Regions from separate parts of the Homo sapiens genome. Here all the other regions are linked to region 3. Evidence: promoter capture Hi-C in human tissues and cell types (Jung and others, 2019). All regions are on one chromosome and are shown on one strand. The core of a region is centred on a gene start or on the middle of the fragment in contact, and the rest is flanking DNA. Distances in the headings are between cores, read along the strand shown. Region 1 holds the start of CABIN1 (calcineurin binding protein 1). Region 2 overlaps PIWIL3 (piwi like RNA-mediated gene silencing 3). Region 3 holds the start of ADORA2A (adenosine A2a receptor).

Region 1 (4,791 bases), core at 1,540-4,039, 420 kb after region 3:
TGTATCTCTCCCAAGAGACTTATTAATTAGAAAGGGATAGTAATTTTATGGTGTAGAAACCTGGTAGACACCAAGTAAACCAATAGATCAAGGTAAATATCACCAGTAATAAGACATTCCAATATCTTGGACTCCATGTGATGCACTGAGAAAGACACAAAGATAATGTGTCTTTGTGTTCTGGCCAACAATGCATAATCTCACCCCAATCATTAGAAAACACTGGACAAACCTTTAAATTGAGAGACGTTAGACAAAATAACTGATCACTACTCTTTAAAAGCATCAAAGCCAAGGAAAACAAGAAAAGACTAAGGAAGTGTTATGGACCAAGGAGAAATAACTAAATGCAACATGGGATCTTGGATAGGGTCCTGGAATGAAAACACAACCTTAATTTAAAAAATGGTAACATTCATATCACATCTGTAATGTAGTTAATAATACTGTACCAACACTAGATTTCTGTTCTTGATAATTGTATGATTATGTAAGATGTTAACATTAGGGAAAGCAGGGTGAAGGACATAACAGAGCGTTTTGTATTGTTGCAATTTTTCTCTAAATCTAAAATTAGTTTAAAAAGCTTAAAAAGAGGCCGGGCATGGTGGCTCACGCCTATAATCCCAGCACTTTTGGAGGCCGAGGCGGGCGGATCATGAGGTCAGGAGATCAAGACCATCCTGGCTAACACGGTGAAACTCCGTCTCTACTAAAAAATACAAAAAACTAGCAGGGTATGGTGAGAGGCGCCTGTAGTCCCAGCTACTAGGGAGGCTGAGGCAGGAGAATGGCGTGAACCCAGGCGGCGGAGCTTGCAGTGAGGCGAGATCGCACCACTGCACTCCAGCCTGGGCCACAGGCGAGACTCCATCTCAAAAAAAAAAAAAAAAAAGCTTAAAAAGAAATAACCATTTTGATTATATATTTATCATCTGTAAGCAATGTGAGGATGGTAACCATTTATGTATTGTTCACCATAAATCCAAGAAACTCACTAAAAGGAGCTTTTAAAAAAAAAAAAGCTATTGAGGCCGGGCGCGGTGTCTGACGCCTGTAATCCCAACACTTTCAGAGGCCGAGGCGGGTGGATCACCTGAGGTCAGGAGTTTGAGAGCAGCCTGACCAATACGGTGAAACCCCGTCTCTACTAAAAATACAAAAATTAGCCAAGCATGGTGGCGGGTGTCTGTAGTCCCAGCTACTCGGGAGGCCGAGACAGGAGAACTGCTTGAACCCGGGAGGCGGAGATTGCAGTGAGCCGAGATCATGCCACTGCACTCCAGCCTGGGCGACAGACCAAGGCTCCGTCACACACACACACACAAAAGCTATTGAATAATCATGAAAAAGAAAAATATCTATTCATTTCTGACTCCCAGCCCAGCAGCTGCATTTCCTCAGATAGCAGCACATTCACCAGGCTTATTAGTCTAAGCTAATAAGTTTCCAAACCCCTTAGAATATAGTTTCCATGGCCTCAGAACACGATAAAGAGTAGCACACCTTCAGACCTCAGCACCCTGATCCAGAGTGATAACTGGGGATGTTTCCTGGCCTGGAAGGTGGGAAGCCTATGTCTTAAGCTCAGTGGTGGCAGTGCCCTGGCTGTGTGACTGACTTGACATAGATGTCAGTCTCTCAGTCTGTTTCCCCTCATGTATGAGGCTTTGTACTAGATGAGGGTTCTGCAAGCTAACCAGCCCACCCTTTTTGTACAGCCCACGAGCAAAGAATGGTTTTTACATTTTTTCATATTTGGGAAAAAAAATCATGACACGTGAAAATTATATTAACAATATATAAAATTAAAACTTCGGTCCCTATAATTAAAATTTTATTGCGACGCAGCTAGTCTGTTATGTATTGTCTTTGGCTGTATCCACACTACATCGCTACAGTTAAGTAGACAGAGTATGGACCCCCCAAGCCTAAACTACTATTATGAATACTATTATACTCATTATACTTACAATATAACAATGTAAACACTGATATATTTACAACAAAAGTTTGCCGACCGCTGAACGAGACTGTTCTAAGCATATTCTATTTCTAACCACAATAATCACATAGAAAGAATCTTAGCCACATGGAATCCGACGGTCCCACACTTATAACCTGTAATAACCCAGGTCCTGAAGAGTTAAGTGACTCCCAAAGCCACTTGTGCAGATACCTTGGGAATGCCAGGTGAGTTCCATCTGGCCAGGGCCCGCCTCTTGCGGGGAGGCAGTGAAGCAGAACGGTCAAAATTTTCAGTCTGGAGTCGCGCTCACCCACTGGGTGACTTGGAGCAAATCATTTCACCTACCCGCGGCCTCAGTTTCCACCCCTGTAAATGGCACCAATAACAACACTCACCTCGCAGGGCTGCTGTGAAGGTGAAGCGAAAGGTCGCGAGTAAAGGGTTAGCGCGCTGGGCTTTGCACCCAGCAGACGCCAAATCAATGGTGGCTCCTGCGGTTACTGGGAACCTCCCCGGAGGCCGGAACCCATTCTAGGCACCTCAGGGCGGCGGCGAGAGCCATGAAGAGGCTCGCGAGGCAGCCAGGAAGCCCGGCCTCGGTTTCCCTGACTGGGGCTCTAAAGCTGCCCGCGAAACCCCCAGCTTCCTCACGTAACCCAGCCTCGCGCCTGCAGCCCCTCCGGCCTGTGCCCCGGGCTCTGCTGAGCCTCACCCCCACCCCGGCACCGCCTTCAAACCAGCCTTCCAGGAACTCACCAGGCGTCTCCACAGCAACGGCCAGTCTGTCCCGACCACCGCGCCGTCCGGCTGCGCGCCTGACAACAAGGCGTGCTCCCATTGGCTCCGGTGCCGGTTGTGCCAGCCAATCAGCGGGGGCGCACGCGCCGCTCGCTCTCCGCGGGCTGCTTAGCTGGGGCCCTGCAGACGGCTACCCTTGGGCGGCGCGCGCGCGCGTGCGCGCGTGTGTGCGCGTGTGTGCGCGCGTGCGCGTGTGCGTGTGCGTGTGTGTGTGTGTGTGTGTGTGTGTGTGTGTGTGTGTGTGTGTGTTGCGGGAGTGGAGCTTGTTGTTTCCGGATCCCCGTCGTCAGTCCTAGCGTGCTGGAGGCTTAGAGCACCAGCTCGTAGTCGGACTCTCTTCTCCACAGCTTGCACCCTGAGCAGTCACTAAATGATGGGCTGTGTGTTATTACCTGGGACATGTGCTCTGAAAACAGTGGAAACTTGGGGAACACTTAGAGCGGGGTGTCCAATCTTTTGGTTTCCCTGGGCCACGTTGGAAGAATTGTTTTGGGCCACACATAAAATACACTAACACTAAGGATAGCTGATAAGTTAATAAATAAATAAATAATAAAAATAAAAATCACCAAAAAATCTCAAAATGTTGTAAGAAAGTTTATGAATTTGTGTTGAGCCGCATTCAAAGCCAAGCAGACCAGCGCGTTGGAGAAACTTGACTTAGAGGGAACCAGGGAGGAGGAGCATCCTCATTCATTATATTACCTGTGCCTCTCTTTCCAAAAAGGATGTGAAGCCCAAAAGGAACAGATACAATAGGATATTGAAACAAAAGGAAAAAAAGGAACAAAACCTAGTAAATGAACAAGAAGAGGGGTCATGGGTGGTGTCAGAATTCCAGAGATGAAAAAAGGCGACAGAGTTGAAGGGGTTCTGTCAAGGGTCTTGGGCTGAAAGATGGTACTCTCTTGGGAGCTAGAATAACAATAAAGCATTGTAGGGAAGAACTTTACACTGTGGTTGAATTCATAGCTGCTTGAGTCTTGCACAGATGATTCAAATAGGAGTGAATGTTGGGGGCTTTTTAACCTCAAAGACAGTAACAGCATGGTGAAAAACTCAGTTCAGTACAATAAAGCTATACTGATAAGCTAGAAGTTCTGAAAATTGTTGAGTCACCAACCTTGACTTTGAGTATTGGGGTAAACAGTATTTGGGGGGTAAACAGAAGCATAAACAGATGGTTTCAAAGCTGCATGGATAACCTTCAGCCTCGGATACAGCTTCCACTCAAGCCTTATCATGAAAGATGCGCTGGAGAGAAACAGTTGAAAATAGGTGGGAAGGGTGGTCCAAGCAGCAAGAAAGTTGTGTGGGGAAGGTCCGGAGGTGAGAAACATGCAGATCATGCTGGAGTGTCATGCAGCACAGTGTTACCGTGAGGCAAAGCTCAGGGCCACAGTGGGGAGAGAGCACTCTGGAGAGTTAGGAAGAGGCCAGTCCAAACAAGCAAGCAGAAAACATATTGTTGCAGTCTTGCCCGTGCACCACAATGTACCAGTCTCTCATTGTGGGGTATCACCCAGAATTCTTTGTCTCACGACCAAGAAAATTAGGGAGTGTGGACACAAAGGGTAAGGTTGAAGCAAAAGTTTAATAAGCAAATGAAGAAAGCTCATTGCAGCTGGCGGGGGGCCCAAGCAGGTTGCCCATTATGAGGCTGGGTCAGGGGGTTTTATGGACTGGGAAAGGAAGGAATGTACTGACTGGTCTTGGAGAAAGCACTACTCAGCTTGGCCCCTGGACCTTGAGGGACCAATCAGGAGCTGAAGTGATAGCCTGGCCCAGGACCAATCAGAGGCTCACATTCTAAAGCACGTCCAAGAAAGGAAAGTGCCCACTGGAACCCACTGTAGCCCACCGTGTACATGTCCACAAAAGGAGAAGAGACTATTTCCTGGAAGCCCACTGGTTATACAAAGGACAAAGGCATTTCTATGCTGGGTCTTGTTCCCTTATCAAAGTAGCTGTGGGCATGCCTTAGGCACAAAGATCAAAGGTGTTTCTGTGTTGGGCATTGTTCC
Region 2 (4,836 bases), core at 174-2,673, 330 kb before region 3:
CTGCCTCCTGGGTTCAAGCGATTCTCCTGCCTTAGCCTCCTGAGTAGCTGGGATTACAGGCATGTGCCACCATGCCCAGCTAAGTTTTGTATTTTTAGTAGAGACGGGGGTTTCTCCATGTTGGTCTTGAACTCCCGATCTCAGGTGATCTGGCTGCCTCGGCCTCCCAAAGTGCTGGGATTACAGGCGTGAGCCACTGCACCTGGCCTCTGTCACAGCTCTCATTTTATCAGTCAGAAGCAATTTCCTTAAAATGACCTCCTTCCCTTCATCTCACTGACATCTCTCACCCTCTTCTTCCAGCCACACTGGCTGCCTCATTCTTCCTTGAACGTTCCCAACTGCAGAACTCTGCTCTTTTTCTTCCACTGCTGGCTTGGGTAACTTTGCTAATTCACTCAGTACCTCCAAGTCTTGGGTTCTGTGTCACTTTCTCACTGAGGCCCGCTTTTGCCCCCATCAGCTAGTGAAACCTGCCCCTTCACACCCTACCTTCCCAGTAATTCCTGATTCTCCTCGGTTTGTTTTGTCCTTTTTTTGTTTTTTTCCTTAGCAATTACCACACAAGGTGCTATGTATGTTGCTTATTACAACTTAGTTTATGTCACTGGAATGTGAGCTTTTCAGAGGAAGTTCCTTTGCCTTGTGCCCTGCGAGTGCCATTTGGAGGGAGAATGAACACAGTAGGGCACTGCTCATTATTTCTATTTCCAAAAACATGCAGACCCAGGAGCCCCCTCAGTTGCAGTCGACACCCCGGCCGCTGCAGGAGGAAGTCCCAGTGGTTAGACCTCTGCAGCCAAGAGCAGCAAGAGGAGGAGCAGGAGGAGGAGCACAGTCTCAAGGTGAAAGGAAGCAAGAAGGACATGAGGGGCAGGGGATGCTTCATGTGTGAAGGGCTACCACAGCGGTAGAAGGTTCTAGATAGCCTCAGGACTCCCGTGAGGTTTGGTGGGATGGGAAGTGTGTGCAGCTTGCAACTGTCTCTCTTTGTGCAGTGAATTATCTGATGGTGTTTTCTTCACCTTGTGTCTTAACTTGTGGAAGGGAGATGGAGGTCACTGTTTATTGGCCAGTTCAACATAATTGCTTTTCAAATTTAGATGACACATCTGCAGATGATAACTCTAAGTTAACTTAATGGAATTCTAAGAACACCATTTTCTTTCCTCTTTAAATTGTGGCATTAACAGGTTGAACCTGTTACCTACATTGCAGGCTGACAGGTTATCCTCGTTTATACAGCACTCATGCACACAGGCTCAGATATTGTCATTTGCTAAGGTTTCGGCTAATGTGATCCAACTTCAGTCTGGATTCTCCTCTTTGCTTTCTATAGCAAAATAGCTTGTGATGAGTCAAAACTTGAAACACTAAAAAAGAATTGTATTATAGATAAATATTAACAAATGGTTACAAAATCCAGAACCTATAAAATGAGCTTATACATTTGAATAAATTAAAACACATTTTTAATAATCAGATCCTATCTGAAGGGTTGTTATTAAATAGTATGTGTAAATTACATGGACTGGGTGCAGTGGCTCACATCAGCACTTTGGGAGGCCCGGGTGGGTGGATCACTTGAGGCCAGAAGTTCAAGACCAGATTGGCCAACATGGCAAAATCCCATCTTTACCAAAAATATACAAATTAGCTGGGCATGGTGGTATGCGCCTGTAGTCCCAGCTACTAGGGAGGCTGAGGCAGGAGAATCACTTGAACCCAGGAGGCAGAGGTTCCAGTGAGCTGAGACAGTGCCACTGCACTGCAGCCTGGGTGACAGTTAGACTCCGTCTGAAAAGATAAAAGTATGTGGTTTGTAGCGAGTGCCAAGGTGCCAAGCTAGGATACCTGTTTTCTTTTGCTGACATTTTAATATGATGAATTTGATTGCTGGATGTGTCAGGAACTAGTTGGGAGTTTGATAAAATTGTTTCAAATTTTATGTGTAAAATGTAGTTAGTCTGTCACAGAAATGGAGACACTTACTTTGTAAGATCATCATAAACTAAAAACTAGACTCCAGAAGTAAAATTTTGAGGCAAACCATTATTGTAACCCAAGGCACAGACGTCTTGGCCATTTAGGTGTACGGGATTTACAATAACGTGTGCGTATTCCTTCAGGATGCCTCTCGTCACTGAAAGACCGCATTGTGCTGTCATTTAAATGTTAACTTTGTAGAATAGCTACATCGATATGAACCTTAGAATGTAAGTTGAAATAGTGAGTGTGATCCTTTCCTAGTTGCTCTTAATAGAAAGGATAGATCAGTTTTGTATTAAAAGCCAGTTTTATAGATTTTTTAAATGATTGGCTTATTTGGCATTTTATGATGCCCACTAGGGGGCAGCATAGCGCCAGGAGATAGGCTTAAAGACAGAACCAAAGTTTCTAGAATCTTGTACCATGAACAAATACCCAAAGAAATGGGGCACATATGTAGCAGGAATGAATAAAGTGCCAAGGCAACCACGGATGTGAACTGGGGACTCCTTGGGAAAGGTTTCTGGGTAAGGTTACGCTTTTGCGGCAACATATCACGGAAATGTGTTTTGGAACCTTGGGTGGCATCTTTTCTACCTCTAACAAACTTATGCTGGGTGTTAATGCTGTCTTTTCTATTCTTCCCTTTTTATTGTTTAAACTTCTGGCGTTTACATTTATGCAGGGGTGAAGGAACCTGGACCTGAGGCTGGGTTGCATACAGCGCCCTTGCAGGAGAGAAGGATTGGTGGAGTTTTTCAAGACCTGGTGGTGAACACCAGGCAAGATATGAAGCATGTTAAAGACTCAAAAACAGGTATGTTGGTCTAGAACTCAATGTTTATGGAGCTGTTCGTTTTTAACTTTTTTTTTTTTTTTTTCATTGAGAGACAAGGTCCTGCTCTGTCGCCCAGGCTGGAGTACAGTGATGCTCACTTTAGCCTCAAACTCCTGGGCTCAGCTGATCCTGAGCTGATCCCAGCTCAAGTAGCTGGGACTACAGGTGGGCACCACCATGCCCGAATGTGTGTGTGTGTGTGTGTGTGTGTGTGTGTGTGTGTGTGTAATATATACATATTTTATATATGTGTGTGTGTGTGTGTGTGTGTATGTAAATTTTGTAGAGACACGGTCTTGCTGGTCTAGAACTGGCCCAAGCCATCCTTACACCTGGGCCTTCCAAACTGCTGAGATTACAGGAATGAGCTACCACACCTGGCCCATTTTAAACTTTCGATAAAAACTTTAATAGATTCTGGAAAGCTTCTGTCATCACTGTAAGTAGAGGTGCCTCCCACCTTGCCCAAGCTGGTCTGGAACTCCTGGCCCAAACCATCCTCCCACCTGGGCCTCCCAAAGGGCTGGGATTATAGGTGTGAGCCACTGTGCCCTGGCCTGCAGTGAGACTTTTTTTAAAATTAAATATTATTACATAGGGTGGCGCTTTCTCTCCTTTTGGAAACCACAAATGTTCTAATTTTCAATCTATTCAGTATCTTAAACTTCCTAAATGTATGCTTGCATAAGGGCTCATTGAATTGATAGGCATTCTGGACATCAGGTGCATTACAAATGTCATTTATCTCCTTGTCTGACCTAACTTTGGCTTTTCTTTTCTTTTCTTTTTTTTTTTTTTTTTTTTTTTGAGACGGAGTTTAGCTCTTGTTGTCCAGGCTGGAGGGCAATAGTATGATCTCAGCTCACTGCAACCTCTGCCTCCTGGGTTCAAGTGATTCTCCTGTCTCAGCCTTCCGAGTAGCTGGGATTATAGGCACCTGCCACTGTGCCCAGCTAACTTTTTGTATTTTTAGTAGATATGGGGTCACCATGTTGGCCAGGCAGGTCTGGAACTCCTGATGTCAGGTGATCCACCCGCCTTGGCCTCCCAGAGTGCTGGGATTAGAGGCGTGAGCCACCGTGCCCAGCCCTAACTTTGGCTTTTAATATTGTAGTGTCCAAACTGTTTGTTTTGGGCCCAATCAGTCTGTTTCTTTATTGTCATGTGGCTCCATTTTTCAGGTTCAGAGGGTACAGTGGTACAGCTACTCGCCAACCACTTCCGAGTGATATCTCGTCCTCAGTGGGTTGCATATAAATACAACGTTGACTACAAACCAGACATAGAAGATGGAAATCTCCGTACAATTTTACTTGATCAACATAGAAGGAAATTTGGAGAGCGCCATATATTTGATGGAAACTCTTTATTATTATCTCGGCCACTAAAAGAGCGGGTTAAGTAATGTTGTTTCACATTTTCCTGTGTTCTTTCTCTTGTTTTCACTTTATTATAATAAAACACCTATTGTTTTTGTGCAGTTGTTTGTTGAGACATCCCAAGGCTCTCTTGCCCATATGACTTGTTGTGAAACCTATGTGCCATGTTCGGTTATCACTGATATTCAATAATGCCTCTGATTTTAATGCTTAAATGAAATTTAATAATACAATGTGGCTCAAAAATGCTGACAAAGTTTGGATACTTTTTTTTTTATTCTATTTGTTTCCTTTGAAACTTCAGCCCCCCACTCCTAGCAGAAAACAAGTTAGAGAACTTATTTTCTTCTTTAAATTTTTATATTAACTGAACAATTAAATTGCTTTCAGGAGCTTAAGTAAAATATTTCGACTTAAATATTTAATTCCAACTCTTCACTCTTGTGAATCATGTTTTCCACACGCACGTACTTTTGTGGGAAAGACTGCTCCATCACGATGGTGTGTTGGATAGCCAGGTGACATGGTGATTTGCCGTGCAATGAAGTTTAGTTTTTTGGAAGAATATCTGGACTTTTTTTTTTGTTTTTTTTTAATCTCAGAGAGTGGAATGGTTGAGCACAACCAAAG
Region 3 (4,253 bases), core at 588-3,087:
TATTAATAATGTAATACTTCTCTGTGATTACCCCTTGTTGGGGACAGATCAGAGGGCAGATGCTGCCCCATACAGACAGGGGACACATGCTGCGGAATGTGCATAATGCCTCTTGAAAGAACCACCTTATAGGATTCCACGCGGTCAGACTCAAAACTGCTGCTGCTTCCTGCCTTCCTCCTCACCTCCCCCAACCTGGCCACTTTAATTAAAACTCCATTTAATCAAAACCCACACATCTTCTGGTTCCTCATATGTCGCACTAGCAAGGCCCTCTGTACACATGCCCAGATGGTGGCTATACCCCCCAGAGCCTGCTGCACGGAGGTGCCCACCAGCTTCTAGGCAGTGACCTGCACATCTGCTCCTGAGTGCGGCTAAGAGCAACATACAGGACACAGTGCACGGACTCGGACCCGCTCCAGCCATGCCTGGCCTGTTCCTGGGCTCCAGAATCCCAGCCTTAGAACCCTCCTGCTGCTTTTCCATAACAAATGTTTACCAAGTACCTCCACCAGGCCTGGCAGCACCCCAACTGCTGGGCCAAAGGGAGGTGTGCCCCCGTTGCTGTGCCTGGCCCCATCTGAGCATATGGCAGGGGACCTCAAAGGAGGAAAGGACCCAGGACATTCCTGGGAGGCGGCTGCTGCCCTGCAGTTTCAGGCACTGCAGGCCACTCCCTGTCTCCACAACATTGGCTCAGCTAAGAGGAGTCGCAAATCAATTTCAAAGCGCAAGAGGTATATGAAGGCTAAGAAAGGTAAGCAACAGAATAAAAAACATGGAGGTGAATTCATTCCAGTAGGAAGGAAGGTAATACAGTAATCTAATAATGATTTCAGAGACCTTTAGAATCTCCAAAGAGGCAAAGAAAGGAATGGCATCCGTAGACAAGAATGAGAACTTCTGAACCGACTGGCGGAAATGAAACAAGGACAGGTGGATATGAACAAGAAATAATACAAAATCCAGGGACTGAAAAATAGAAGGACTGAAGTAAGGGATGTGGTGAGCTTCAGGCACACGTACAGTGGAAGAGACGACTGGGGATCTGAAGCTAGTACTGAGGAATTCTCCCAGAAACGCCATGAAGAGACCTAGTCTAGGAGGAAACGGTTGAGAGGCATGGGGTGGACTGAGAAGCATCAACAAGTGGCTTGCGGGAGCTCGGCAGGGCACGGCAGGTTGTGGGCCCCACTATGACTGGCTTTTGGGATGGCCCAGGGGGGCCTGGGCATGAACCTCCCAGAACCCAGGGCCCCAGGATCCCCATACCCCTTCCAAACTCATCAGCGCAGGTGCCTTCCTCACTGCCCAGTGGTAAGCAGCCACCCAGCACGGGCTCCACTTCCCTCCTGACCTCCGGGGCTGCCCGGTGGCCCTTACTTCAGGCGCTGGGTGCAGGCTGGGCCCGGGACCCAGAGATACACCTGGCATCCCTCCCCCACAGCCCGGGTGCAGCTGCAGCTCTCTGCTCCTGGTGGCAGGATGTGGGCAAGATGGGGCCAAGACCCAGCTCCCTGCAGCTGGAGGCTAAGGCTCTGAGCCTGCCTCACAGAGCAGCCCCCACATCGCAGCCCCGGGGCCAGTGCTGGGGGCCCCAGCTCCTGCTCCCCACACCCCCATGTGTCCAGGCTAGGGGCCAGGAAGGCCACAGCACCCCCTCCTCCCCGCCTGGGGGCCACTCACCCCCTCACACGAGGCTTCACCTGACAGCCCTCCTCCGAGGGGCCGCACCCCGCACCAAGGTGCTGGGGGCCCACGCTGTGCTGAAAGCAGCTTGGCTGGGGGCGGCTCCTGCTCCATGTCACAGTCCCTGAGGCCCAGGCAGAGCTTCCCCTCTGCACGCGGCTGCTCACATGTACACAGGCTGTGGTGAGCCACGTCACGTCACGTGAAGGATTGGCACCTGCACCTCCCTCAGATGGCGGGCAACAGGTACTATGCCGCTGAAGGGGGGACAAGGGAGTGTTTCTAGATGGCCCCGCGGACACAGAGCCCAGGAGTCCTGGGCGGGACCCTGTGGGAGGCTTGAAGGGGCAGTGCTGGGTGCAGGGCCTCACAATGCCCCAGGGTGGCTGCAATGAGGATGGGAGGGGTGAGGACCGGCTGTTGGGTCCCTGGGCAGGTGCGACGAGGCAGCCCCGGAGGCTGACAGGAGGGCAGGGTGACCAAGCAGAGCCTGGCCACTGCTTCTTCCCCACTGAGCAGCCTCCCCCAGGCTGGCTCAGGGTTTGCAGAGGCCACTGAGGGACCAGAGGCGAGTCCTCCTGTGACACGGGCAGACCAGCCCGGGGCCTCTGGGGAGAAGTCTCCTGCCCAGATGCCAGAGGAGACACCAAGTGGCACCATCGGCCTCCCTCTGCTTGGCCAGCTCCGGCAGCCTCTCCACCAGGTGACGGCCGATGCCAGAGACCAGGGCTGCAGCGGCACATCCGAGGAGTGGGCACAGAAGAGCAGCAGCAGCCCCTGCCCAGTGACTCCTGGAACAAGCTTCCCCTGCGGGGTGTTGGCGGGGGGTGGTGAGAGAATCCCCATGGCAACTCACAGAAACATCATCTGGGTGAGACTTGGAGGAGAAGGTGAAGGGAGAGAGGTATCGAGAGATTCTAGCAGAGAAAATGCCCGAAGCCAGGGTCCTGCCTTCCCTGGGCTCCCATCATCCCCTGTGCTGGGACGAGGGGCAGCTGCTCTGCTGCTCCTCTCTCCACCTGATCCTCCCCAGTCCCTGGCCAGATCCATGGAGTCCAGGCTGCAGGGGCCCAGGCCTCCTCCGCCATGAAACTGCCTCTTCCCACCACCCAGAGCCCCAGGTTCTGCACAGGATGTGGGCAGTTGTGTGGGGGCTCCTCTCTGCACCCCAGCTCCATTCCCTTCCCCATCTGGGCTCCTCTGCTCCTTGCAACCTCTGGACCACCCACCTCCTAGGACCAAGCCCCTCCTGTCAATGGCCCAGACCCTTCTGGGAGCTAGAACCCTCCCATTCACCAGCTCAGCTCCTGCCTGTGCAGTCTCCTCTCCACAGCACCCCCACCACACATGCCCTAAATCCCCTCAGCCTGTGCTTCCCGCCTTCATCCATCCATCCATCTTCTGTCTGTCCTTCCTCTGCTCTCCTGCGTGCTCAGGGCTCTGTTTGCGCTGCAATAGACAAGACAGACCCCGCAAACACGGTTGGGAAGGCAGTTCTAGCTCATTTGGGGTTAGGTGGCTCGGGTATTAGGTCTGTGAGAGGGTACTAAGACCTTCTTTGGAGTGTCAGGACACAGCTGAGAGCCACCAGGGGCTGTGGTCCCACACAGCAGGCACTGCCCAGGCCTCACCTGGACTTTGCAGGACGTGATGCTCTCAAGTCACATGCTGGCTCCCAGGCCAACTACCATTCATATGTCCCTCTGCCAACAGCAATCCCTGTGGTGTCCCCTGACCCTCAAGCCTAACACCCTCCCTCCCGGGTTCCCCGCTCCAGCACACACCCCTCACCGGCCCTCTGGTCTGCCCTAAACCTTCCCCCACTTGCTCCCAAGCCAAGGCCTTTCCACATTAGGCATTGCTAAGATCATCATCCTTGTTCTACAGATGAGATATCAGATTCCCCGGGACAGCAACCTGCTCAGCGAGTGGGTCGAGGAGGCAAGACCAGAACCCAGACGAGAGCACTGAAATCTCCAGCACATCGCGTTGCCCATGAGGCAGTCATTGCCATTGATTGCCCTCCTCCATCGCGACGCAGGGCATATTTGGGGATCTGTAATTCACAGACTGATATGGGAAGAAGCCCAGCACAGCTCTCAGACCAGCCAGGTCAGCCTTGGCCTAAGGCCCGCCTCTGGCCAGAGGTGACTGGGCTGCCCCTGGCTTCCTGAGGCAAGGAGCAGGAAAGCTCACAGCTCAGCCAGCTCAGCACTGGGGAAACAGGGGACACGGATGGAGGGGTAGTGGCTGGGATTTGCCTGAGAAACTCTAGGACTAGGGAGAGGCTGGGAGACCCCAAAAAGCAAGCGCAGAACAAGGAGGGACTGACACCGTGGCCGTGGACCAGCCTGTGAGGCGCCCCTGCCATGGATCTGCCGGGATGTTGGGCGGGGGGGGGGGGGGTGCTGCCCACAGGGCCCGGCCTTCCCAGCCCCACCCAAGGCCTCCAGGAACGGCCAAAGCAGGGCCAGTGAGGAAGCCCCGACCCCGCAACAGCTTCCCAGGCCCGCGGTGCTCCACAGAACCCTCCACCATGGTCCCCAGGGCTGGGGCACCCT

What was found. Contacts are between HindIII fragments. The study calls those that stand out against the background at their distance.
Region 1: the fragment with the promoter of CABIN1 here is called in contact with the fragment with the promoter of ADORA2A in region 3 in 1 of the 25 tissues and cell types used here (mesendoderm cells).
Region 2: a fragment that was not itself captured here is called in contact with the fragment with the promoter of ADORA2A in region 3 in 1 of the 25 tissues and cell types used here (thymus).

Annotation. Positions count from the first base shown.
Region 1 is chr22:24,009,302-24,014,092 of GRCh38, reverse strand. CABIN1 (calcineurin binding protein 1) reads right to left here and starts at 2,789. Exons shown (of 37, transcript NM_012295.4): 1 at 2,726-2,789. The HindIII fragment of the contact is 7,958 bases long and covers 743-4,791 here.
Region 2 is chr22:24,755,878-24,760,713 of GRCh38, reverse strand. PIWIL3 (piwi like RNA-mediated gene silencing 3) reads left to right here. Exons shown (of 21, transcript NM_001255975.1): 3 at 725-845; 4 at 2,675-2,806; 5 at 4,009-4,223; 6 at 4,809-4,836. Among named protein-coding and RNA genes, the nearest start is that of PIWIL3, 16 kb to the left of the region's middle. The HindIII fragment of the contact is 8,851 bases long and covers 1-4,836 here.
Region 3 is chr22:24,425,183-24,429,435 of GRCh38, reverse strand. ADORA2A (adenosine A2a receptor) reads right to left here and starts at 1,837. Exons shown (of 3, transcript NM_000675.6): 1 at 1,690-1,837. The region is part of intron 18 of SPECC1L-ADORA2A (SPECC1L-ADORA2A readthrough (NMD candidate)); the gene reads right to left. It overlaps ADORA2A-AS1 (ADORA2A antisense RNA 1), which reads left to right. Exons shown (of 7, transcript NR_028484.3): 7 at 1-230. RefSeq lists enhancers at 51-210, 3,818-4,253 and a silencer at 1,647-1,756. The HindIII fragment of the contact is 18,723 bases long and covers 1-4,253 here.